4 separate regions of the Homo sapiens genome follow, and all the other regions are linked to region 3. Evidence: promoter capture Hi-C in 16 types of primary human blood cells and fetal thymus (Javierre and others, 2016). All regions are on one chromosome and are shown on one strand. The core of a region is centred on a gene start or on the middle of the fragment in contact, and the rest is flanking DNA. Distances in the headings are between cores, read along the strand shown. Region 1 has its middle 31 kb from the start of ANK1. Region 2 overlaps ANK1 (ankyrin 1). Region 3 holds the start of DKK4 (dickkopf Wnt signaling pathway inhibitor 4). Region 4 overlaps GPAT4-AS1 (GPAT4 and GINS4 antisense RNA 1).

Region 1 (6,399 bases), core at 3,051-5,550, 550 kb before region 3:
TTTCTCCTGGTGGAGACTGCACAGCGTGGTGGGATTTCACCTTACCCTTTGATATGGTTTGGCTGTGTCCCCACCCAAATCTCATCTTGAATTGTAGTTCCCATAATTCCCACATGTTGTGGGAGGGACCCGGTGGGAGGTATTGAATCATGGGGGTGGTTCTTTCCCATGCTGTTCTTGTGATAGTAAATAAGTCTTACGAGATCTGATGGTTCTATAAAGGGGAGTTCCCCTGCACATGTTCTCTTGCCTGCCGCCATGTAAGATGTGCCTTTGCTCTCCTTTGCCTTCTGCCATGATTGTGGGGTCTCCCCAGCCATGTGGAACTGTGAGTCCATTAAACCTCTTTTTCTTAATAAATTACCCAGTCTCGGGTATGTCTTTATTAGCAGCATGAGAACACACTAATACACCCTTGGTCCTGCCCACTAGTGACTTTTTGTAGGCAATTAACAAGCCTTTAGTCCTAATCCAAAGAGGCCTGATGACTTGGGAATGTCAGAACTAGGAAATGTATGCCCCTAGCATCCAATCCTATAGAGGGGAGGGGTCCTTGGTGCCCCCAACCTGCCAGCTGTGAGATTTCTAATCCTCCCTTTGCTGACTGTGCAATTGCCCTATTTTTCTAGAAAAGGCTACTCTGGCCCATTGCTGATTGTCTATGACCCCATGGGGTCTAAGTTACTCACTGTAACTGTCCCCAGAGAAAACAGGCTGGGGCTGTAGGAAAGGTGGGAGCTCTGCCACCTTGATGTAACCTCAGAGCTGGTCCCTTCCTCCTCAGGTCACCATGCTCACTCCTGCTGCCCAGGTCTCAAAGACAGCCTACACCACCCACTCCCTGGCTTAGCACCATCCCCTGCCCTCTGTCTCTGCTGCCTGGGCCTCTGGATTCCCCTGCACCCCAGGCTCACTGTGTGCTGAGCGTCCCACCGTCCCACCAGCACCTCAGCCGGCCCTTCTCCAAATAAGGAACAACATTTTCTTTTCTAGTGATAAGAATAAATCATTTCATTGAAAATAGGAAATACCAAAAAGTAAAAAGAGGAAACTAAAAATCACCCATAATCTATCACATCCTAAACATGATTTACATTTTGATGCATTTGCTTAGTCTTTTTTCTTTGCACATGAATAATACATGTTTTCCCAGAACTGGAATTATACCATGCATAATATTTTGTACCCTTCATTTTTTTTTCTAGCCTTGTCGTAACAATAAACATTCTGCTCTTATCCTTGGATCTCCATGTGAGTTTTCAAATTCCCCTCTCCTCCCCTCCATCCATCTAAATCTTTCCCTGCCTTTAATTCTCCATCCCGTAAAGCCTTGCCTAATAATTCTGGTCTGTATGTATGTTCCTGTCAATATGTTTAGCCTTTGCTGCACAGATTGCATAATTCACTGCTTGATCTATTGTCTTTTCTAATGACTTTGAGAATTGGTTTTCTGTTGCTGGTAATAATATAAGCCCTTAATAATCAGCAACCTTGTCTTACACATAGTAGTGCTCAGTAATATTTGCTGATTTTCAGATTGCTTCACATTATTTGAGCTCCATATTCCCCTACCCTTTTTTTGTTTCTATGCAAAAGTGAAAATTCTCAGACAAGGTTGCTGGGAGCCAGGAATAAATACCCATCTAATGGTAGCAACACTTGTAAGAAAAGTACAGGACTCACATCTTGCGTTTTCCTAATCCAGCCTTTCCCCTTGCTGGTGTGAATGAGATGTATGCCTCCGCCAGAGTAGCTGGCCAAGATGCACCCACACAGGACTGCGAGCGTCTTAGACTGCTCTCTGAGTTGGAATTTAGGGCCTGAATTAGTCAAGCATCAAATGAAGAAATAATGAGATGCAAACTCTCCACATACTATCTTCACAGCTTTAAAATAAAACAAAATGTAATGGCCTTTAAAAGGAAATGTAGGTTAGACAGGATTGCAAGTTAACTACAGTTATTTTATAACATTAAAGTAATAAAAGGTATTTTTTGACCTGGTTTTACAAAGGCTATTTCTTCACACACATACACACACACACTCGAATACCTACCCATCTCCACACACATCCCCTCATATATACACACTCACACACACTCACACGCACACCCACTCACACTCACACACATCCACACACGCATACATACACCCACTCACACACCCCACACACATGCTCACGCCCACACACATGCACACTCACGCACACACCCACATACACACACGCACTCACACATGCACACACGCATACATACACCCACTCACACACCCCACACACATGCTCACGCCCACACATGCACACTCACGTGCACACACCCACATACACACACGCACTCACACATGCATACACAGATACACACCGCCCCCGCCCCCCAACCCCCGACACACACACCCTTGCCCAAGCAATAAAGAGGAAGCCCCCACTGTTTGCAACTCTCCTATTAAAACAGACTAAGATCATTCAGGGTTCAGCCCCGCCCCAGGGCCGCGAGCGCTCAGGGATTTTGATTCCAGACCCTGGGCACCAGGTTGGAATCAAAATGATGGAGTTCCCGGTCGGTCCTCCAGTGCTGAATGTTTAATTTCCTATGAAAGGCTGCGAGCTAGAGGAGGAAGCAGGAACACCCAGCGCCGTTCCCGCCCATCCTCCCGCTCCGCCCCGCTCCGCCCGTGCTGGGCTGTGGCCTCCACACCAAGCAGCCGCCCTGGGCCGCCTTCCTTCGTCTGTGCGTGCAGCGCCGCCTCCTTCAGCTTAGGCCCGACACTCCATGAACTCTCATTTTCCACCTTCTCCGTCTCCAGCTTCCAAGCTGCACAGGGCCAGGCCGAGGTACGTGATGGCGGGCACTGAATTACAGATCCCGTCTGTGGCCGCCAGCCTCTGTGTCCTGCCACCTCCTCCGAGAGGACATCACCGCCACCAGGTGGAGCGAGTCTCCTCCTCGGCGCTCCAACCACGTGCTGTTTATTACTCTGTGGGGATTCCCATACCGAGGCCTCTTCAGTTCCTGGAACAGTAGCACTAAAAGGCTCCTGAGTGCCTCTGTTAATTTGATTGTTCTGGTTCGCACTACAATGACCGGGCTGGAGAGGGGGCGCTCGTAATGAAACAGGAACTGCTCCTCGCGCCCGCTCCAGAGTCCTTTACATCTTTGGGGAGAGGGCATACGGGGAGCTACATTTCATTTTCCTGAAGATTTTCCACGCGAAAGTGCTGGGGAGAGAGTTGGGCCTGGGAGGCTGCGCCTTCTTCCCGCGAATCCCGAAAACTGCGCGGCAAAGGCGGGTTCCGCAGAAGTCGCGCGTGACCCGGGGCGCCGCCCTCCTCGGGGCCCATTCGGATCTGCCGCCCGTCCTCTCCAGAGCGCCCCCTGGCGCCCTCTAGGCCATCTTGATTCCACCGCCGCAGTTGAAAGAATTAATAAATAAATCCTAGTCTCGCGTCTAGACCGGTCCGTGAGGGTCCCCTGCTCACCGGACACCCTGCCGCAATCTCTGCTGTCCCATTCTGGCCTCCCTACGGGGACGGGGGCCACCGTTTGCACATCAGCGGCGTTTGGGACAGCACTGTGCAAGATCTGTGACTCGGCTTTCAGAAGCTTCTGCCACAAGGCTTCAAAGGAAACCTTCAATTTTCACATTTCCTAGGGGGAAAAAAAATCTGAGATTTCTTCTTGTGGCTTGATGAACTTAGCTTTCGTCGCTGGAACAAAACCCGAGGAACAGCGTCTTCGCCACCCTTGCCACCTTACTGATGTTTCTCAGGGGGCACATGCCCATCGCAACCTTATGACCAATCCCATTTTTCAGATGCAGAAAGAGGCTCAGAGAGGTTAAGTGCTACTTGCTCAAGGCCACAGCAGGGAGTGGAGCTGGATTCGCTCCCAGGCAACTGACCCCAGCGTGCAGTCGATGCCTTCTCCTAGTCCCACTCACCGTGTAAGACCTGGTATTTACAAATTAGATTCTCGTTGTGCTTCTCCATTGGAAGGGCACTAGGGGAGCTCATTGTCTAAGACTGCCATCCCTAACTGCCTTTTAAAAAGAAATCTGGGCCGGGCGCAGTGGTTCATGCCTGTAATCCCAGCACTTTGGGAGGCCGAGGCAGGCAGATCACGAGGTCAAGAGATCGAGACCGTCCTGGCTAACACGGTGAAACCCCGTCTCTACTAAAAATACAAAAAATTAGCCGGGCGTGGTGGCGGGCGCCTGTAGTCCCAGCTACTTGGGAGGCTGAGGCAGGAGAATGGCTTGAACCCAGGAGGCTGAACTTGCAGTGAGCCGAGATCGCCCCACTGCACTCCAGCCTGGGCGACAGAGCGAGACTCTGTCTCAAAAAAAAAAAAAAAAAAAAAAATCTGACGTGACAAGGCCTTTAGTTTTTATAAGTGAGGTCTCCTCTCTTTGCCTAGATATTCCTCCGATAACATCAATGAAATTTTGCCCAGCACAGAGCAAGTACTAAATAATGATTTGGTGAATCTAATGTTGAGCCTGCAGTAATCCAACTAGAAACACCCACTCAGCCACTCGGGCATACCTTTTATTTGGGCAAGGGGCACTGCAGTTCTCTGGGCAGGGGTCAGCTAGGAGAGACCAATAGATGCCCCCACCCCAGGCTCCTAGACCCATCTCCAGGACCAAACAGCCAAAGCCCCTCTTCTTTTCTTCAAAATACACACATTTCTAGAAATTCTCTGCAAAATACATAGGCTACTAGATAAGCACCCAGTTTCCCTCTGGGGTCATTTGTTCCCGAATGAGGCTTATTAAAAGAGGAAACTATTTTTAAGCTAAATCATCAATCAAAAGTATTCTTCATTCTGGTATATGGCTGCTTTCCACAGATGATAAAATCCCGTCAACTTGATCCAAAGAAAAAATGACCTACATAACAATGACAGCATGAATAACAATTAATCCTCCATTGAAATGTTCAAAAGCTAGAATTGTGGTAAAGCCAAGATTCCCAGGGAGTGTCAGGAACTGCTCTCTTGATTCTAAGCTTGAAGCAGGTAAAGAAAAGGTTGTCTGGGACTAGGGCTTTCGGGGATAGGACCCAAATCCCAAGGCAAAGGGAGTCAGAAGCGAGTAAGAAAAGCAAACAGCTCCTACCTACCCAGTGCCAAAGAAACGCAGACACCAGTTCTGTGTCGGTTCTGCTTGAAAAGGTCTGAGAAGAATAATTTGGTAGATGAATCATTGAAGAATAATTTTGCAGACAGCTCCATCAAGCCAAATGCCCAGCGTGAGGGCTGTGTGTATAATACTGTCATAACCTTTGAAGATAGATTCTGTTCATCAACACGGCTGTTTACATAATCACTTGGTCACCTCACCAAATGGATTAATCTTTTTGGTCACATTCCTTATCAGTGCATGGAGAGGCTAATTGTTGGTGGCCCAATGTGTCCCATAAACGGATCCCATGAGAATAAGCTTGCAGCAACAGATGATGAAGGGAACTGAGATACAGACGAAAGCACAGCGGCCTGGGAGACAGGAGACGAGGCTCCGCCTGGACCTTGACGACGACCTTCCTTAAAACTATGGACTCGTCATCTGACCTCTCAAGGCCTCCATTTCCCCATCTGTAAAACCGAAAGCCCCTCAGCAATCTGGGGCTATCATCTGAAAAGTGTGGGCAGCTGCGGGCGCTCATACCTCAAGCCCCAAGAGTTTCTTCTTCTAACAGTAACATACTTTGCACATGACCCAGCAATCCCACTCCTGGGTATTTACCTGATAAATGAAAACCCATGTTTGCCGGGCATGGTGGCTCATGCATGTAATCCCAGCACTTTGGGAGGCCAAGGTGGGCGGATCACTTGAAGTCAAAAGTTCAAGACCAGCCTGGAAAACATGGTGAAACCCCATCTCTACTAAAACTACAAAAATTGGTGGGGTGTGGAGGCACATGCCTGTAGTTCCAGCTACTCGGGAAACTGAGGCAGAAGGATTGCTTGAACCCAGGAATTGGAGGTTACAAGTGAGCCAAGATTGCGCCATTGCACTCCAGTGCAGAGCAAAAGTCTGTCAAAAAAAAAAAAAAAAGAAGAAGAAAAAGAAAAAAGGAATGAAAGGAAAGAAAAGGAAGGAAGGAAGGAAGGACCATTAAGAAGGTACCTGTACCCAAATTTGCAGAGCAGCTTTATTTTTATTTATCACCGCCCCAGACTGGAGTCAACCCACACGTCCTCAGCGTGTGAATGAATAGACCAACCGCAGCACCTCGTACAGTGGAGTGCTACTAAGGAGCGAATATGGATTCACACAGCAACACGGGTGCATCCCAAAAGCATGCTGCTACACGGATGCAAGGCCTTCGGACTATATGATCCCATTTAGGAGACAATTGGGAAAAGGGAAAATCCAGGGGTGAAGAATAGATCTGTGGTG
Region 2 (4,906 bases), core at 28-2,527, 670 kb before region 3:
CATGAAAAGTGGATAATAGCATCTATCTTGTTCATTTCTCGAAGTTGTTAGGTGGATCAAACGTGATACTATACGTGAAGGTATGTTCCAAAATTAAGATATAAAAAGTTGGCAGGGCACAGTGTTCATGCCTGTATTCCCAACACTTTGGGAGGCTGAGGTGTGAGGATCACTTGAGGCCAGGAGTTTGAGACCAGCCTGGGCAACATAGCTAGACCCTATCTCTACAAAAAAAGTGAAAAATTAACTGGGCATGGTGGTGCATGCTGTAGCTACTCAGGAAGCTGAGGTGGGAAGATGGCTTGAGCTAAGGAGTTGGAGGCTGCAGTGAGCTCTGATCGTACCACTGCACTATGGCCTGGAGCAGAGTAAGACCCTGTCTCTACACATAAAAATTTTAAAAAGTAATGCACCTGTGTGTCATGGTTTTGCAGTGCACTGGTTTGCAAGACATTATAATTGCACAATGAGATGAAGAAGCTTGCCTCAAAAGTAAATCAATGATGTCACTGTGCACTGTTTATTCAGCCAATTTTTGTTTTTATTATTATTATTGATAGCAAGACTGTCTCAGTGAAGGAAGCAGCGCATGGGTTTACATTCTGGAGCACACTCCTTATCTCCCTGCAGGCAAGAGACAGTTCCCAGGTGGGCACCTTTGCTCATCACTGCCGAAAACCACTTTCACCTGCATTTTTTTTGCGCTTCATTAAAACCACATAAGGTCACTAGGGCAGGCATTTTTATTATCCTATTGTGTGGAGAAAGAGGCCAATTCTCTGTAAGGTTAAGCACCTTATCTAATGTCACGTAGTAAGCAGAACAACAGATAACCCAACCTTGAACTTCTGATTGCACAGCCCAGGTAATTCCAGCTAGAACAGTGGTTCTCAAACTCTGATGTGTACACAAATCCCTTGGGACCTTGTTAAAATGCAGTGTCTGATTCAGAGGCGCTAGGGAGGGCCCGAGATTGTGCATTTCTAGCAAGCCCCCAGATGATGCTGACAATGCTAGTCCAGGGATCACACTTTCAGTAGCAAGGCCCTAGGGCACTCAGGGTTAAGGGCAATGCCAGGCTGGAGGACGTCCTGGACATGCGCCCACCCAGGCCCATAGCAGATGGCTGCCCAACGTGGGATCTGTCTCAGGGCACGAGATTTCCCCACCTCGGCCAGCATTCCTCTGGCTGAGGACTGAGTTCTCCCTGCCAGCCACTCTCTTACTGTGGAAACCAACATTTCTGATTCTGCCAGGATCACTGGTCAGGAAGAGGAAAGGGAAAGAAAGGGGCTGGCCAAGGCAGTCAAAGCCCTGGGTACAGGGAAAGCTCAGCAAGGTGGGCCCATAGGTGGCTTTTGTGGTGAAACGAAAAGTTGAGACTTACCCAAGGAATTGAATTAAATTGAAAAATCATTTTCTTTGAAGAATGACATGAGATAATCCTTTCTAGTATTCTTCCTTTTTAATTTGATTATGTTATGAGAAAACATTAAATTGTTCTTCGTAGGTTGTGTTCATGTAACAAGATCGGCATTTGGATTATAATAAGTTTAATTAAACAACATGATTTTTGCACTGTATTAAAAGAGAGCAAAGGAATGGGGTGCGATGCCGCAGATCCAGCCTGAGATGCAGGGTCGGCTCAAAACAGAGCTAAGCCTCCCCACGATTAGACACGGAGCACCAGTCAGCGCTGGCCCAGAGAAGATTTTCACTATGTAAATGAAAAATAAAACCCTAAGCCCCACACAGATCCCATCTAGGCCAAAGAGATCCCAGAAAAACCTTAAAAACTGAATTCCCAGCCACGAAGGAAGGGAGGTTGGACACGCCTTGCTATACCCACTCCCTTTCGGAGTTTAGGCGCAACTGACCGGCATTCATGTTAAAAGAGATCATAAGACTAACCAAAGGGACTCTTTGTGACAAGACACCAAATTATCAACAGGACCCAAGGCCACAGTAGGCAAGGGCTGAGTCACATGCCCCCTGGAGGTCACTCGGCCCAGGACCCTGGTGAACAGACCCTTCTCTCAACTTCATGCTTTTCTGCTGATTCCAAACTTTTAGATAAAGCTTTACTCCTTTAACCAATTGCAAATTAAAGAATCTCGGAATCTGCCTATAACCTCTGGGACTTTCTAGGTATTTTTGTCAATATATACCTTCCATGTATTGATTTACGTCTTTGCCTGTAACTCCTGCCTCTCTAAATATAAAAAACCAAACTGTAAGCCGCCTCAGACACACTTTCTCAGGACCTCTTGATGCTGTGTTGCCCAGGGCCATGGTTATCACGTTGGCTCAGAGTAAACCTCCAAAAGACTTTATGGAGTTTGGTTTTTCCATTAATAACTACATGAGAGCAATGATTATTAGGCCATCTTTTTTTTTTTTAGACAGAGTCTCGCTCTCTTGCCCAGGCTGGAGTGCAGTGGTGAGACCTTGGCTCGCCGCAATCTCTGCCTCCCGGGTTCAAGCGATTCTCCTGCCTCAGCCTCCCAAGTAGCTGGGATTACAGGTGCACGCTGCCATGCCCGGCTAATTTTTGTATTTTTAGTAGAGACGGGGTTTCACCATGTTGGCCAGGATGGTCTTGAACTCCTGACCTCAAGCAATCTGCCTGTCTCGGCCTCCCAAAGTGCTGGGATTACAGGCTTGAGCCACCGTGCCCGGCCCTATTAGGCCATCTTTTAATGTACAAGGGTCCATCACTTGAGCAATCTGCAGTGTGTTCATGGATGTATCCTCAGGAATCCCAGGCCACCTGGGAAGCAGCGATGTCCACACTGGCAAGGCCAGCCCCCTGTCCTGCCCAAGGGTAGGCCTGCCCTGGACATGGCTCAGGCTACCAGGTAAACCTCTGGTTAAAATTGAGATACAAGTGCCACTGTGACTCTCAGAACACGGACTGCCCCTCTGAGCTTCCCCTAAACCAGAACTAAAATGAACAAATGAACTTCTGCAGGTGACAAGGACAAGGACAACTAGGCTGGAAAGTCACGGAGAGGGGAGGGAGGAATGTGTGCCCGCAAAAGGCTCTTCTTTCCCAAGGAAATGAGCTCATCCTAAGGAATGCACACGGAGGGAGCTCTGCCCAAATGTTCAAACAACATTAGCATCAAAATTAGAAAGGGGAGGGTTTGGTTTGGGTGCAGAGAGATTTGCATGTGAAATTCTACAAAATTGCCAGACTACTTTGGAAACTATTTTTTGCCATGGAAACAAAGCCCATCTGTACAGGGTTTGTGCTTGGATTTAGTTATCTTTAAATATAATGAACCTGGCTCCCGTTCCTTTTATATAAGTAGGGGAGTGAGGAGGAGGGGAGTCCAGGTTTTTATTTTTAGAGGCAGGAGTAAGTCGACATCGCAGCGGGGCCGTGTGCTCCCTCTGCACAGCGACGTGGGACTCACTGCAGCAGGGACAGGAGGAGACAGCTGTCGGGAGCCGGCGTCTGTAGAAGAGCGATGCTGCAAGATGGGGACACGTGTCTGTCCAGGGAGGGAGAACGCGCCGAAGCCCTGCACTGGCACTGACGCTCCCTGCCTGGGCTGCGGAGGCCCTAAGCCAGCAGGTGTTGGCTGGAGTCACATGGGGTCCCACCCCGAGGCTCCTTCTCTGCAGCACTTGGATGCCTGCCACATGACGGATCTCCCATAAATTATCCTGTTTCCCGTGCGCCTGGCTGCCCCATAGAGTGCGGGTACTGCGTGTGGCTTTTGTCTTCCTGGCCCCGCTCCCTCTCCTCTCCCCTTCTCCCCGCTGGCCACCAGTCCCGCGGTGCCTATCCCTACACAGCCTCGCCTTCCCACAGCAGGCAGCCTGTTCCCAAAAATGGTCCTTCCAGCTTTATCCTTGTACTACCCAACCCCGTGGGGTCTTCCAGAAGCAACCCATCTGCTCCCTCCTCTGATTCCCTCAAGGGTCACGGAACCTGCTGCTCTGAGCAGCTCGCCTCCGAAGCTGGTGTGAGGCTGGGCCAATGTGTCTCACATTCAGGTGAGCCTCCCTACAAAAATGCCACTATCTAAAAGTCTGATCTCAGAGACAAATGAATTTGGAGATGATCATTCTCATTTTAAAGAGGTCTCTTGTTTCCAGGTTCCAGCAAGCTCGCCAGCAGCCCTGAGGATTTCTCAAAGTACGGTCGCTGTGGCCCCAGCCTTGGAACCATGCAGAGAGTAGGTTAAAAATGAGGCTTCCAGGCCACACTGCACAGTCCCACGGAGTCAGAATCTAGCAATGCTAGAAACGGGCTCACCACTCCCCAGGGATTTTTATCCACACTGACCTCTGACAGTCAGTTTACAAAACCCAGCTGACGTGCAACTGCTTGGGGACACATTTGTTGTATAAAACAAGTTCCGCCTCTGCGAGGTAACCCCTGGCTGGGAATTGTTACCCACTTCCCATCCCACTCCTGGGCCCTGAATAGCGTGATTACAGGGCAGGTAACATGTGGGAAAGTGAGGCGTGATTTCTGAGGTAAAAATAGCAACAGAACGCAAAACCCTTGGGCTGCTGTGGAAACCCCCCTCCCTGAGGGACTGGAAGGTAGCAGGTGACCTGCTCTCCAGGGGCAGCTGGGGAGAGGGGCGGGCCTTACCCAGGCAGGGCTGTGCGGGGAGCCGCCCCGGGGAAGCAGCAGCTTGACGATGTCCAGGTTGTTGTGATGGACGGCCACGTGCAGGGGGGTCAGGCCATTCTGCAGGGGACAAAGACAAAAGAGGCCGGCTGTCACTCCCACGGACTTTCTCCCAGGACTCCCTTTAGGCATGGGAGCACCTATTTTATACAGTAAAATCCTGTTTAAAATCTTTCCCAGGCCAGTCTTAACTTGGAGTCATGACAGAATGTCATCGGCAGGACCCAGAGCCCTGTGGGAACAGGGGGGAACGTG
Region 3 (6,695 bases), core at 3,668-6,167:
CCAGTGTACTCTAGTCTGGGCGACAGAGTGAGACTCCATCTCAAAAAAATAAACTAGGGACCTTCATAAATTTAGTTTTTTGTTGGGCCCATATTTGATTGTGTCAGTCCATTCTTGCATTGCTCTAAAAGAATACTGGAGACTGGGTAGTTTATGAAGGAAAAAGGTTTAATTGGCTCATGGTTCTGCTGACTGTATAGGAAGCATGGCACTGGCATCTGCTAAGCTTCTTGGGAGGCCTCAGGAAGGTTTTACTCATGCTGGGAGATGAAGTGGGAGCAGGCACTTCACATGGTGAAAGCAGGAGCGAGAGAGAGAGAGGAGGTGCCACACTTTTAAACAACCAGATCTTGTGTCAACTAACAGAACTCACTCATCACCAAGGGGATGGTGCTGAGCCATTCAGGAGGAATCCGCCCCCATGGTCCAGTCACCTCCCACCAGGCCCCACCTCCAATACTGGAGGTCACATTTCAAGCATGAGATACGGAGGGGATAAACGTCCAAACCATATCATTGAATCTTGTAATATAAACTTATAACCTGAATAGAAAAACAGGTGTATGATTTATCTCTTAAATCTGTAGCACTTGCTTGAAATCCACTAGAAAGAGCTCCCCTAAGCACAACCACTTCTATGCACAAAATACAGCCCTTTTAAACTTCAAACAAACAAAAATTTCACTTTTTTGCCCGAGTTCTCCTCTGGGCTTTTAAGCACAAGTGGTCAAAATGTGTAAGTAAAAACACTCCTTGAAAGCCCTGCCTTTCAAATATTAAAATTATATAAATATAAAATATACAAAGTTATCAAATGGTAAGTAAAGCTACTGAAAACGTGAAAATGCTTTATAACTTGCAAAGGACTATACAAACATAAGATATCTTGAAACTTCTTTATTAACCAAATTATTTTGTAGTGAAATGCCATTTCCCTTCTAAGAAATGAATGGAAATAAACAATAGAGTTATTAAGGAAAAATATAGTATTTGCTGTGATAATTTTCCTGGTAAGATGTAAGAATTAATTTACTTTTAACTTCAGATGCTATCATTTTTTACCCCCTAGGATACTGTCAGGCACCAACCCTTCACCAGAAATTGTTTAAAGATTTATTTGGAGAGAGAGATGTGGCTCGGTTATAGTATATGTATTTCAAAACTCACACAGTACACTTTAAATATATACAATTTCAATTCTTTGTTGTTGTTGTTGTTGTTGTTGTTGTTGTTGTTTTGAGACCGAGTCTCGTACTGTCACCCGGGCTGGAGTGCAATGGTGCGATCTTGGCTCATTGCAACCTCCGCCTCCCGGGTTCAAGCAATTCTTCTGCCTCAGCCTCCCGAGTAGCTGGGATTACAGACATCTGCCACCATGCCCAGCTAATTTTTTGTATTTTTTAGTAGAGACAGGGTTTTACAGTGTTGGCCAGTCTGGTCTCAAACTCTTGACCTCGTGATCCACCCACCTCTGCCTCCCAAAGTGCTGGGATTACAGGCGTGAGCCACCATGCCTGGCTTCAATTCTTAAAGATTTGAATTAATTGAGTCCCTAGATTAGAAATAATTTTTTTGGTTACAGAGTCCCATCAGTTTTCTGGAAAAACGGACAAAAGGCTAAAGCTAGTTTCATTCATCACAAGGTCGCCATCTCTTAGTTCTCTAGTTTCAGGCTATTTCACTTGCTACAAGATTTGATTTTAAGAGAGATCTGTATGGAAGCATTTTAAAGTTAATGTCCAAGATTGAGCTCAAATGCAATGTGGATTCTTCTTTATTTTGAAATATTTATAGCTTTTCTATTTTTTGGCATACTCTTAATCGAGCATGCTGCCGATTGCTGGTCAATTGGCTTCGACACAGTAGTCCAGGGCCACAGTCGCAACGCTGGAAGATTTCTGGAGCTTGAGCAGTGTCTTTATGCCCTCTTCTGGAGCAGACCTGTCCCTCCAAAAGGACTGGCTTACAAATTTTCGTCCAAAAATGACGAGCACAGCAAAGTCCAGGGCCACAGTCAAAAGTTCTCAGACAACTTTCTCCCTCTTGTCCTGTAACAAGGTTAATGTGGGCTTTAGTGATAAATAAGGAAAGTGGCCTGCTGGGGGTTTGCTACTGGGATAAGGGAATGGGACCTATGACTGACAGCCACAAAGTAAAAACAGACACAGCACGCAGGTCTCACAGAGCTAGGTGTTACGCTAAAAGCAGTAATGCCATGGCGACTCCACCCCTACCCATCAGAATTGATCGTTGTTACTGGCTGCAGACTACCTTAGGCTACTCTCTACGTGACCCCCACAGCTTCTTACAGAAAGAGATAACAAACAGCACATGCTTCCTAAGTGTTTCTGGGATGGAGAAGAATAAAATCAGTCTCACCCTATCCTTAAGAGGCTGGGAGGAGAAAATGCATTTCTGAAATAAAATATGCTGCGAATGCTGTTCTTACCCTTCCTGCCTTGTGATTTCTTAATACTTGGCTTCCTTTTGGGTTGGTTTTCCTGGACTGGGTGCCCAGTTGTTCCTTCTGCATGTGTGCCATCTTGCTCATCAAGCTGCCTTTCTAATATTGGGGTTGCATCTTCCATCGTAGTACAAACATCTGAGGGACAACCAGGTGTAACTAGAATTATTAACTTCAAGGGGGAGAACCACAGACACACTAATTATCCTACTGTTGCATAGTTTGGCAGCACCTCTGCCTTCAGTTTATATATAACTTTCTAGATTTCTGGAACATGTGCTAAATATTTACATGCTCGCATGTGGCAGAGAAAGTAGCTAAGTGGAAATTGCATTCCATTAAAGGTAGTTAATGGTATCCAAGTGGAAATGGAAGTATTTGAATGATTACAACTTGAGTCTTTCCTTTAAAATCATTATCTCCAAGTCATTGGCAAGAGCTGTTGCCAGGAAATAAATTATTTTGTTTCATTAAGAAAAGGCAAGCCGGGTCCGGTGGCTTACGCTTGTAATCCCAGCACTTTGGGAGGCCGAGGTAGGTGGATCACCTGAGGTCAGAAGTTCGAGACTAGCCTGACCAACATGGTGAAACCCTATCTCTACTAAAAATAACAAAAATTAGCCGGGCATGGTGGTACATGCCTGTAGTCCTAGTTACTCCAGAGGCTGAGGCAGGAGAACCACCTGAACCCGGAGGCCGAGGCTGCAGTGAGCTGTGGACAACAAGGGCGAAACTCCGCCTCAGAAAAAAAAAAAAAAGGAAAAGAAAAGGCAGCTGCATACATTTACTTCAAGCATGAATCTAGGAAGCACCATTAGAGAGTGCCTACCCTGGAATATTCTAGTCTATGGGGCTTAGACACTACCTTCGGTTTAAAAACCACTGTTGGCGTTATGTCGCTCACCGTTCACACAGAGTGTCCCAGGGCAGCACATGGCATCTCGCTGGCACCTCCTCCGCAACCCACGACATGTAGCACAGAACGGCTTCTCATCGCGGGGCTGGAGGCAGAACTTTCTGGTATTGCAGTCCGTGTCAGACAGGCACTGTGAGCCCTGTGGAGGGAATCTGTTATCACAAGGCTAGGAAACCCCCAACACGATGGAAGATGACTTATTATTGAAGGCAGGAGGCGGAGGGAGCCAAAGGACAGTGGCGCTGTGACAAACCCTGGGCAGCATCTTACTCTCCAGTGGAAATGGTTTTCTCCCACAAAGGGAAGCTCATGTCACCCGGGGAGACCTAGGCGCTGCAAAGGCTATTTGAGTTTGAAAAATTGACTTAACTCAGAATTTAGTTTTCCTGTGCTCTTTGTGAAAATGGGAAAAAATGTTTTCCTATGTGTGTCTTAACAGGTGAGTATGAGATTTTCAATATATCTTAACTCTAGAAGCTGGCTACAGTTTCATTAAACATACTATTGATGTTTGTGGCATTCCTATTTGATTTTTTACTCTAGTGAATCACATTTAGCTTAGAGACCCTTCCCTAAGTGAACTGTCCTTTGATTTTCAATGATGCCTCATTGACATAGAGAAAGAGATACCGAAGATCAATTGTTCTCATACACAGTTGATGCTTCTACATAGACATACAACGTAGGTGTAGCATATATGATATATGTAATAATCTATACGATATATAATAACATATACACATACATAAAGCGATTCCTAAAACAACTCTCTCTGTGAAGTTAGATGGTGACAAGGCAATGCATCATGGCCCTCTGTTTAAATTCTCATTCCCATGTTTGCTTGCTGGCTGTGTGAGCTTGGGTAAGCTCTTCAACATCTCTGAGTCTTATTTCCTCATCTGGAATTAGGGAATGTTTCACCTATCTCAAATTGTGAGGAAGAGTACATGACGTATTACATGTAAAAGAGCTGGCACATAGTAGAGCTTCCAAAGTGTTCGTTTATTTCGTGATTTATAGACAAACGTATGGCCGAATGATGTGAAAAGCCACTGTGTTTATTTCATACATTCACACTAAGGCCACTGATCCTACCAGGATGCCCTCCCAAATCCGAAACCAATTCAATTTACCTGCTAGGTAAGACATTTCATACATGAATCAGAATGACTTACTAAAGCCTAAACAAAACACCCCAGCTGTCAGCAGTCCCGTACCTCGCCCCCCTCCCTAGCAGCCTTACCTTCCGGGCCCCATGCAGGTCAGCAGAGCTCCTGATGTTGTTGAAGTCCAGGACCAGAGCTCCCAGGGGAGAGCAGAGCCAGCTCAGCCCCAGCAGGACGGCCGCCACCATCCTTCAATCCCGGGGCTCCTGGAGGGTCCCAGCACTGTGCGTCACCAAAGCGAGGCTGCTCTCCACCCAGAGCAGAGCTTCCACTAAGCTGGCAGCTCAGCACGTCGTCTGTTTGTCACTGCTTTTTCTGAAAGAAGTAAACCTTAGTCTGAGTAAGGTGCGTGAAATCGGCTGAGCAAAGTCTGACCAGCAGGTTCCTCCTGAAACTATTTATAACCAGATGTGCCTCCTCCCCGCTCCGTTCCTTCCTCCTGCCCCACACAGGCTTCAACAAATCCCTTCAAATCTGTTTGATCAATAGTTCAAAACAAGGACTCAATAGAAGGAGAGAAGAGGCAGGGCCATGCGGCTTCTCCTCCAGGGGTTCAATCCCTCTTAATTATTGCATATCAAAGTTAGTTCAAAGGGCCACGGCAGAGCAGGATGTCTGTATCAAAGGCAAACTCTGATAATCACCTGCATTTCCTACCTTCAGTAATCCTTTGGGGGTAGGGAGGGAGTCTGCCCTAAGATCTGTTTTCACAGCTAATTGTGCTCAAAGAAAGGATGAATCATACTGGCCAATATGCTATAGAGGATGCCAAAAACTAATGAGGTACAAAATACACTGAGAAGCTGTAAACTGGGCTTCAGATAGTGAGGACAGATAGAAAAAGAGAAAACGCCCCCTGATTAGCTCTGGCATCCAGATGTCAAAATCCCAACCGCTTAAAAGTTGTGAACGTAACAGCACCTGTTCTGACTAAATGCCATTTGGGAAATTACTTTCCTTTAAATGAAAATTGAACTGTTTGAAGTTAGGGTTATTAGGAAAATAATGTAATTTATGAAAATCCCATTTTTCAATGGTGGGAACAATGATAGCGCATTTTACACAATTCAGTACGAAGCTTTGGGTCCATTTTATCAGCAACATATTTAATTTGTGTTGCATTATGTAAAACTCACTTAAGCAGAACAAGGATCCAAGTCTCTGGCTGATTTCAGATGAAATTTCATGTATTTCCAATTTTCCTAATACGAATTTTTTAAAACTTCTGCTTCATCCCTTTCCTGTCTGATTTTTTTCCATTTGGACTATTAGTCAGGTAATTTAGACATGTGCTTATCACTGTCTTAAATACTTTAAGGGTAGAACAATCTAGATCTGGATCAAAAAATCATTTTTTCTCTTCATTGTTTCATTGCTCTTAGCATAGAGTCATCTAAAATGCATTTTTTCTATGCCATAAATGATAATCTTATTATTTACTACATTTTCCTGCAGAACAACCTAACATCAATTCATTGACATGAATCTCAGCATTCTGTGCATGGGAACATTCTCAATTTTGAGTAATGCAGTGCCATTCCGAGGGTGATGCAGGTGATTCGAGCCTTCCTACTACTTGGCCCTTGTCCTTGGGTTGGTATTGCTTGTCTACCTCTCGTATGGAAGTTACTTGTTTTAATCCCTTAAACTGACATCAAACAACACCCTTTGATAGCATGATAACCCTGGTGACTAGGGGTGTTACAGAATTTATTTTCAAGTTGTACAATTATGACCAAGGATAAAGGAAAGAGCCCCCAGGGTTCTGTCTCTGCCGGGTTTCTCTGCTTCCTGCTGCCTCACTGTAAGGGAATTTCAGGTTACCAAAGGCCCCTGGCAATATACACAGGCGAAAGAACTGACGGGAACTCCTGTAACACGGCACAAACAGCCACTGAGCACTTAGAGCACTTGGCATGGAACAGAGCCTCGGATTACATGTTAGGAATAAAATTTGAAACTCCAATGGCCGGGCACAGTGGCTCACACCTGTAATCCCAGCACTTTGGGAGGCCAAGGTGGGAAGATCTCCTGAGCTCAGGAGTTCAAGACGAGCCTGGGCAACATATTGAGATCCTGTCTCCACAAAAAAAAAAAAAAAAAAAAAAGTAGGCCGCGTGCGGTGGCTGACGCCTGTAATCTCACCACT
Region 4 (7,014 bases), core at 3,937-6,436, 830 kb before region 3:
TATATTCAAAGAGATGTACCGGCCCAGGCTTGGTGGCTTACACCTGTAATCCCAGCAACTTTGGGAGGCCAAGGTGGGAGGATCGCTTGAGCCCAGGAGTTCCAGACCAGCCTGGGCAACATAGTGAGACTCTGTCTCTACAGAGAATAAAACAATTAGCCTGGCGTGCTGATGTGCATCTGTAGTCCCAGCTGTTTGAGAGGCTGAGATAGGAGGATTGCTTGAGCCCAAGAGGTTGAGGCTGCAGTGAGCTATGATTGCACCACTGCAATCCAGTCTGAGTGACAGAGCAAGACTCTGTCTCAAATATATGTGTGTATACATATATATATATGAGATTCTTTTTTTTTTTTTTTTTTTTTTTTTTTGAGATGGAGTCTCACTCTGTCACCCAGGCTGGAGTGCAGTGGCACGATCTCAGCTCACTGCAACCTCTGTCTCCCGGGTTCAAGTGATTCTCCTGCCTCAGCCTCCCAAATAGCTGGGACTACAGGTGTGTGCCACCACGCCCGGCTAATTTTTTGTATTTTTAGTAGAGATGGGGTTTCACCATGTTAGCCAAGATGGTCTTGATCTCCTGACCTCATGATCTGCCCACCTTGGCCTCCCAAGTGCTGGGATTACAGGTGTGAACCACCACGCCTGGCCGTATATATAGGAGATTCTGCAGGCAATGAGAATATTTAATTTACCAAGTTTACTATGCATGAAGCTCTTTTTGTTTTTGTTTTTGAGACAGAGTCTTGCTCTGTTGCCCAGCCTGGAGCGCAATGTCACAATCTTGGCTCATTGCAACCTCCACCTTCCGGGTTCAAGCAATTCTCCTGCCTCAGCTTCCCGAGTAGCTGGGATTACAGGCACCTGCCACCACATCTGGCTAATTTTTTTTTTTTTTTTTTTTTTTTTTTTTTTTTAGTAGAGACAGGGTTTCACCATGCTGGCCAGGCTGGTCTCGAACTCCTGACCTCAGGTGATCCGCCCGCCTCAGCCTCCCAAAGTGCTGGGATTACAGGCGTGAGCTACCATGCCTGGCCACATCAAGCTGTTTTTAAAGTAGATTAACTTGTAAATCTCCACAACATACCTATGCAAGGAAAAATTTGAGATTTTGGAATGGGCAAAACATTACTGGCTATCCTTTCAATGTAATGCTTGATCCCTGTGTGCTGTGTGCCCATGTCTTTAAATTTTACAACTCTGTAGAGGTACAAGTTGATTTATAGAAAACTTATAATGATGTGAATATTTCTTGTCTTGCTATGCAGATGATGCCTGCCCATGGCAATATAAGTGAATTTTGTCCTGTTGAGAATAAGTCAAGCCCCCATTTGATTGGATGTTTTTGTTTTGTTATAATTTGGTGGGACATAGTCTCGCCCTGTTGCCCAGGCTGGAGTGCAGTGGCAATCTCGGCTCACTGCAACCTTTGCCTCCCGGGTTCTAGTGATTCTCCTGTCTCAGCCTCCCCAATAGCTGGGACTACAGGCATGTGCCACCACACCTGGCTAATTTTTGTATTTTTAGTGGAGACGGGGGTTCGCCATGTTAGCCAGGCTGGTCTCGAATTCCTGGCCTGAAGTGATCCATCTGCCTTGGCTCCCAAAGTGCTGGGATTACAGGCATGAGCCATGGCATCTGGTGAGCTTTGATACCAGACTCCTTTGCTGAAGGCCACATCACTTCTAAGTAGAGATGTGATCAAACCCCAGTGAGGCCAGGGCACCTGAGTCCATCCTTTTCATCTTACTGTAATCTTTCTTTCCACAAAAGAAAAGAAGATCCAAAAATGTTTTCAGCAACAATAGCTTCACTGGAATAAGTTCTCATATTCGAAAAAGACTCATTTGAGGGAATAACCACTGCCATTCACATTGCTTTAGAGGAGGTGGCATTTTTCTCAACATAGCTTTCTGTTTTAACCAGGTCATATTCTATGTAACACAATGCTGACAAATTCTGCCTAGCTTGTTAAGACAAAACCACTCGAAGTAAAGTCAGCACACAATTAACCTAAGTCTTGCTTCTTGTTCAGTTCTATTAGTTTCTATGGAAATAAGAATAAAAGTAAATGACTATTTTTGCTTCTAAGGAATTTACAATTAATCCTGAGAAGATGTCTTAAGTGTAAACCTAAAAGTATGGGATTTTTTGGCTCAAAAAAAAAATTTTCCTAACGGCCAGGCCTAGGGTTAAGAGGAAGTTATTTTCTTGGGTTCAGAGATTTGCATATGAATGTTTTAAGCCTCTTAAAGTGACTTAAAACAACCTGGGACCCAAAGTTGTTGCCAGCTCAAATGTAAATGTTTTTAAACTTCAAATTGCTGCTTCTGTTATCACTGAACCTATTAATTTTCCTTAAACAGAATTCTGACCATTTCATTGCCTCTTAAAAAGCTTCAGTGGGCCAGGCACAGTGGCTCACAGCTGTAATCTCAGCACTTTGGGAGGCAGAGGCGGAGGATTACCTGAGGTCAGGAGTTCAAGACCAGCCAAGCCAATATGGTAAAACCCCATCTCTACTAAAAATATGAAAATTAGCTAGGCATGGTGTCAGGTGACTGTAATCCCAGCTACTTGGGAGGCTGAGGCAGGAGAATCACTTGAACCCGGGAGGCGGAGGTTTCAGTGAGCCGAGATCTCGCCATTGCACTCCAGCCTGGGCAAAAAGAGTGAAACTCCATCTGAAAAAAAAAGCTTCATTGGTTACTCATTGCCTACAGAAAAGGAAACAGTAAAGGAGATTAATATTTATCTGTGTCTTGGACAATAGGCAAATTGCTTTCCATGAATTATCTTATTTAATCCTCATAAGGACCCTATGAGATAAGCGCCAGCTCACCACGGTACCCCAGCTTCCTGGTCAAATTGTCCTCTTTCCCTAAATAGTTTATGACCTCTTTTTTAATATCTACAGTTTTACTATTTTATTAAAATCCCACCAAATTCTTTGGGGAATTAAGTAAGGTGTACAAGTTTTCATATGAGAAACACTGGAGTGATTTGGGCACACATAGCTTTCTGGTCGGCCTGCAATCTCACTTCCAGAATAGGTCATGAAAATAACAGTGAGAAATGGCCTCTCCCACACCCAGCTTCACGTGTTAAAGCGTGTGCTGTCCACTCCCACTTCTGTTTGCAGACGTGGCTGCCCTCAACCTCCGGACAAGTGATTTGGTCCTCAATCCAGGTGAGACTGTAGCAGGCCTCCTTTGTTTGTGTAGAAGATCATCAACTTTGCCATCTTCTGGCATCTGAAGCTTTCTGATCTCCAGTCAACAACATAACGTGTACCCTTTGGGTCCTCTTTAGTGAGCTCATGGGTAGGCTGCTGCCCACACTCTTGTCAACAGTTTAACAACTAACACGAGAGAGCCGAAGGGCTGTTTCTTCAGTCCATTTCTCTTGGTTCTCCAACTTTTTTTTTGAGACGGAGTCTCACTTTGTCGCCCAGGCTAGGGTGCAGTGGCGTGATCTTGGCTCACGGCAACATTTGCCTCCTGGAGTCCAAGCGATTCTCCTGACTCAGCCTCCAGAGTAGCTGGGACTACAGGCGCATACCACGGCGCCCAGCTAATTTTTGTATTTTTTGTAGATATGGATGGTGTCTCACCATGATGCCCACACTGATCTCGAACTTCTGAGCTCTGGCAATCCACCCACCTCAGCCTCCCAAAGTGCTAGGATTATAGGCATGAGCCACCACTCCCAGCCATCCAACTTTTACTTCTGTATCAAACTGGATCCCATTAGTCAGTATTTCTGGATGAATGTTTTAGTTCTTTGCTTTTAGCAAAGAGACAGCCATGTGAAAAACATTTCCATGTTTTCTGAAAATTAGAACTGAAGGCATTATCTATTACATATCCATTGTTTCTATATAAGAATCCCTGTAATAAATTTTTCTCAGAATTCAGTGCAAGTAAAAGTTTATATTTTCAAACTTTATGGTTCATTTTATCAGACAAATGAGTCCTATCTGTTCCCCTTCCCGGCCTTCCTACCAGGAACTCAGAGCCACTTTGTGTGCCCCTGCCTCCCTCTGAGCTTCCTTGTGTCTTTCCTTAAATAGTTTCCGATCTCCTTATGATACCTACAGTTTCAATCTTCTATTTTGCCTTAATTTTAAAAGCTACCCCAAATTTGGGGAAGAATTACATAAAAGATATATAAGTACATATTAGTAACTTGGATATATATTAGTTCCCACTTTTTAAAACATGTATGGGAATGAGTGATTTATAAGCCATTTGACAGCATATGAATTCCTAAGTAGGAAAATTCATAAGCAAAAGTGGTAATGAAGGCAGGAGGTGTAGTGTCCTCTCACTCCAGCACTTGTTTAAAAAGAGTGGCCAGGTGAGGTAAGTGACCTAGTAACAACAGCAGGTGCCAGGTATAACTCCATTCACTTTAGTCAACAAACAGGTAGGCTGGCTGGGTGCGGTGCCTCACGCCTGTAATCCCAGCACTTTGAGAGGCCGAGGCAGGCAGATCACTTGAGATCAGGAGTTCAAGACCAGCCTGACCAACATGGTGAAACCCCCATCTCTACTAAAAATACAAAAAAAAAATTAGCCGGGCATGGTGGCGGGTGCCTGTAATTCCAGCTACTCGGGAGGCTGAGGCAGGAGAATTGCTTGAACCCAGGAGGTGAAGGTTGCAGGTGAGCCGAGATGATGCCACTGCACTCCAGCCTGGATGACAGAGTGAGACTGCATCTCAAAAAAAAAAAAAAAAAGGTGGGGTTAGACATTGTGGTATGTGCTGCACATTCAGAGAAGAAAGCCCCTGTCTTAAAGCAGCTTACAGTCTAGCGAGGGAGACCAACAAAAACCAAATCACAGCATACTATGCTTGTATAAAGGTAGGAATGGGCAGGGCACAGTGGCACACTTCTGTAATCCCAGCACTTTGGGGGGCCAAGATGGAAAGATTGTTTGAGCCCAGGAGTTCTAGATCAGCCTAGGCAATACAGCAAAACCTCACCTCTACCAAAAATACTAAAGCCAGGTGTGGTGGAATGTGCTTGTAGTCCCAGCTACTCAGGAGGCTGGGGTGGGAGGATGGTTTGTTTGAGCCCAACAGGAGGACATTGCAGTGAGCCAAGATGGCACTATTGCACTCCAGCCTGGGCAACAGAGCTAGACCATGCCTCAAAAAAAAAAAAAAAAGAAAAAGAGAAAAGAAAAAATGAATGAACAGGGGGTATTATGAAAAAACACAGGAAGAACTCGAAAGACTGGAAGAGTCCTGAAGTCTTCCCAGAAGAGGTGGTACCCAAGCCAAGACTTGAAACACTGGAGAGCTAGCCAGGCTGAGGAAGGAAGAGAGGATGGCTACTGGAGGCAGAAAGGTCACATGCAAAGGCACAGAAGCCACAGGGTGGATCCAGTACTCTGGAAACTCCCAGGAGTTGGGCATGGCAGGTGCATCAGACAAGATTCGGGGATAGGAGGAGAGGCAGTTTCCCATCTTGGAGGAGTCTTATAGGAGTCTCATGGGAGACAGGTTTTCAGACAAAAGTCTTCAGGAGTCTGATTTGTCATGCTAAAATGTAAATGTATGAATTTTGCATGAAAACATTTAGAAGGCTCTGAAAGATTTTAATATTTGATATAATCAGTTTTTTTGTTTGTTTGTTTGTTTTTTGCAGGGGGGGGTGGTGGGTGGACAGAGTTTTGCTCTTGTTCCCCAGGCTGAAGTACAGTGGCGCAATCTTGGCTCACTGCAACCTCCGCCTCCCAGATTCAAGTGATTCTCCTGCCTCAGCCTCCCGAGTAGCTGAGATTACAGGCATGCGCCACCACGCCCGGCTAAGTTTTGTAGTTTTAGTAGAGATGGGGTTTCACCATTTTGGTCAGGCTGGTCTCAAACTCCTGACCTCAGGTGATTCGCCTGCCTCAGCCTCCCAAATGGCATAAGCCATTGCACCCGCCTGATAGAATCCGTTTTACATTTTTATTTTATGTATTTATTATTTATTATTATTATTACCTTTTTTTTTTTTTTGAGGCAGTCTTGCTCTGTCACCCAGGCTGGAGTGCAGTGGCACAATCTTGACTCACTGCAACCTCCACCTCCCAGGTTCAAGCAATTCTCATGCCTCAGCCTCTGGAGTAGCTGGAACTATAGGCACATGCCACCACACCCAGCTAATTTTTGTATTTTAGCAGAGACGGGGTTTGTCTATGTTGGCCAGGCTGGTCTTGAATTCCTGACCTCAAGTGATCCGCCTGCCTTGGCCTCCCAAAGTGCTGGGATTACAGTCATGAGCCAGCACACCCAGCCCAGTTTTACGTTTTTAGAAATCCAGTTCACAGAGAAATCCCTCTGGTGACTGTGGAGAATGGAGGTCACACTGGAGGGTTAGGAGCCAGGGCTGTGTGGGCAAATCCAAGCCAGAAGGAATGAGGGTCTTGTAGTACATGCAGGAAGAGGTAACCTGGCAGTGTACTGGGCCTTCTGCTGCTGTAGTGGTGGACTAGGCCATATGGATCATTTTTAGTGAAGACAAACACTGGGTGAAACATAAAAAGCATTTTTCTAAAGCCATCAAGGAGCTAACAAGCTAGTGAGGAATTGTTGCACCAAGATCTAGAAGACCACAGTCAAAAGAGGTCAATACAGGCCGGGCGTGGTGGCTCACGTGTGTAATCCCAGCACTTTGGGAGGCCGAGGCAGGCGGATCACGAGGTCAGGAGACTGAGACCATTCTGGCAAACACTGTGAAACCCCGTCTCTACTAAAACTACAAAAAATTAGCCAGGCGTGGTGGCGGGCTCCTGTAGTTCCAGCTACTCAGGAGGCTGAGGCAGGAGAATGGCATGAACCCGAGGGGTGGAGCTTGCAGTGAGCTGAGATCACACTACTGCACTCCAGCCTGGGCAACAGAGCGAGACTCCATCTCAAAAAAAAAAAAAAAAAAAAAAAAAAGCGGGGGTCAATACAGCATTTGCCCAGGCCAAGTGGTAGCTGAGAGACAGCAGTGCTTCCAACAGCCTCAAGCAGCGATTT

What was found. Contacts are between HindIII fragments. The CHiCAGO score rates a contact against its expected background, and 5 or more counts as called.
Region 1: a fragment that was not itself captured here is called in contact with the fragment with the promoter of DKK4 in region 3 in 1 of 17 cell types (activated CD4 T cells); the score reaches 6.6 in activated CD4 T cells.
Region 2: a contact is called between a fragment that was not itself captured here and the fragment with the promoter of DKK4 in region 3, in 5 of 17 cell types (naive CD8 T cells, non-activated CD4 T cells, total CD4 T cells and 2 more). The highest score is 7.7, in naive CD8 T cells.
Region 4: a fragment that was not itself captured here is called in contact with the fragment with the promoter of DKK4 in region 3 in 1 of 17 cell types (neutrophils); the score reaches 6.3 in neutrophils.

Annotation. Positions count from the first base shown.
Region 1 is chr8:41,825,602-41,832,000 of GRCh38, forward strand. It overlaps a transcript of ANK1 not described here. Among named protein-coding and RNA genes, the nearest start is that of ANK1, 31 kb to the left of the region's middle. RefSeq lists enhancers at 2,381-2,938, 2,490-2,784, 2,625-3,284. The HindIII fragment of the contact is 1,406 bases long and covers 3,598-5,003 here.
Region 2 is chr8:41,709,544-41,714,449 of GRCh38, forward strand. It overlaps ANK1 (ankyrin 1), which reads right to left. Exons shown (of 43, transcript NM_000037.4): 16 at 4,613-4,711. Among named protein-coding and RNA genes, the nearest start is that of MIR486-1, 51 kb to the left of the region's middle. RefSeq lists an enhancer at 3,673-4,872. The HindIII fragment of the contact is 1,599 bases long and covers 479-2,077 here.
Region 3 is chr8:42,372,312-42,379,006 of GRCh38, forward strand. It overlaps DKK4 (dickkopf Wnt signaling pathway inhibitor 4), which reads right to left and starts at 4,918. Exons shown (of 4, transcript NM_014420.3): 1 at 4,624-4,918; 2 at 3,369-3,519; 3 at 2,450-2,602; 4 at 1,752-2,048. The coding sequence starts at 4,734. The coding sequence ends at 1,789. The HindIII fragment of the contact is 5,398 bases long and covers 225-5,622 here.
Region 4 is chr8:41,545,969-41,552,982 of GRCh38, forward strand. All of the region lies in intron 1 of GPAT4-AS1 (GPAT4 and GINS4 antisense RNA 1), which reads right to left. Among named protein-coding and RNA genes, the nearest start is that of GINS4, 20 kb to the left of the region's middle. The HindIII fragment of the contact is 3,862 bases long and covers 3,256-7,014 here.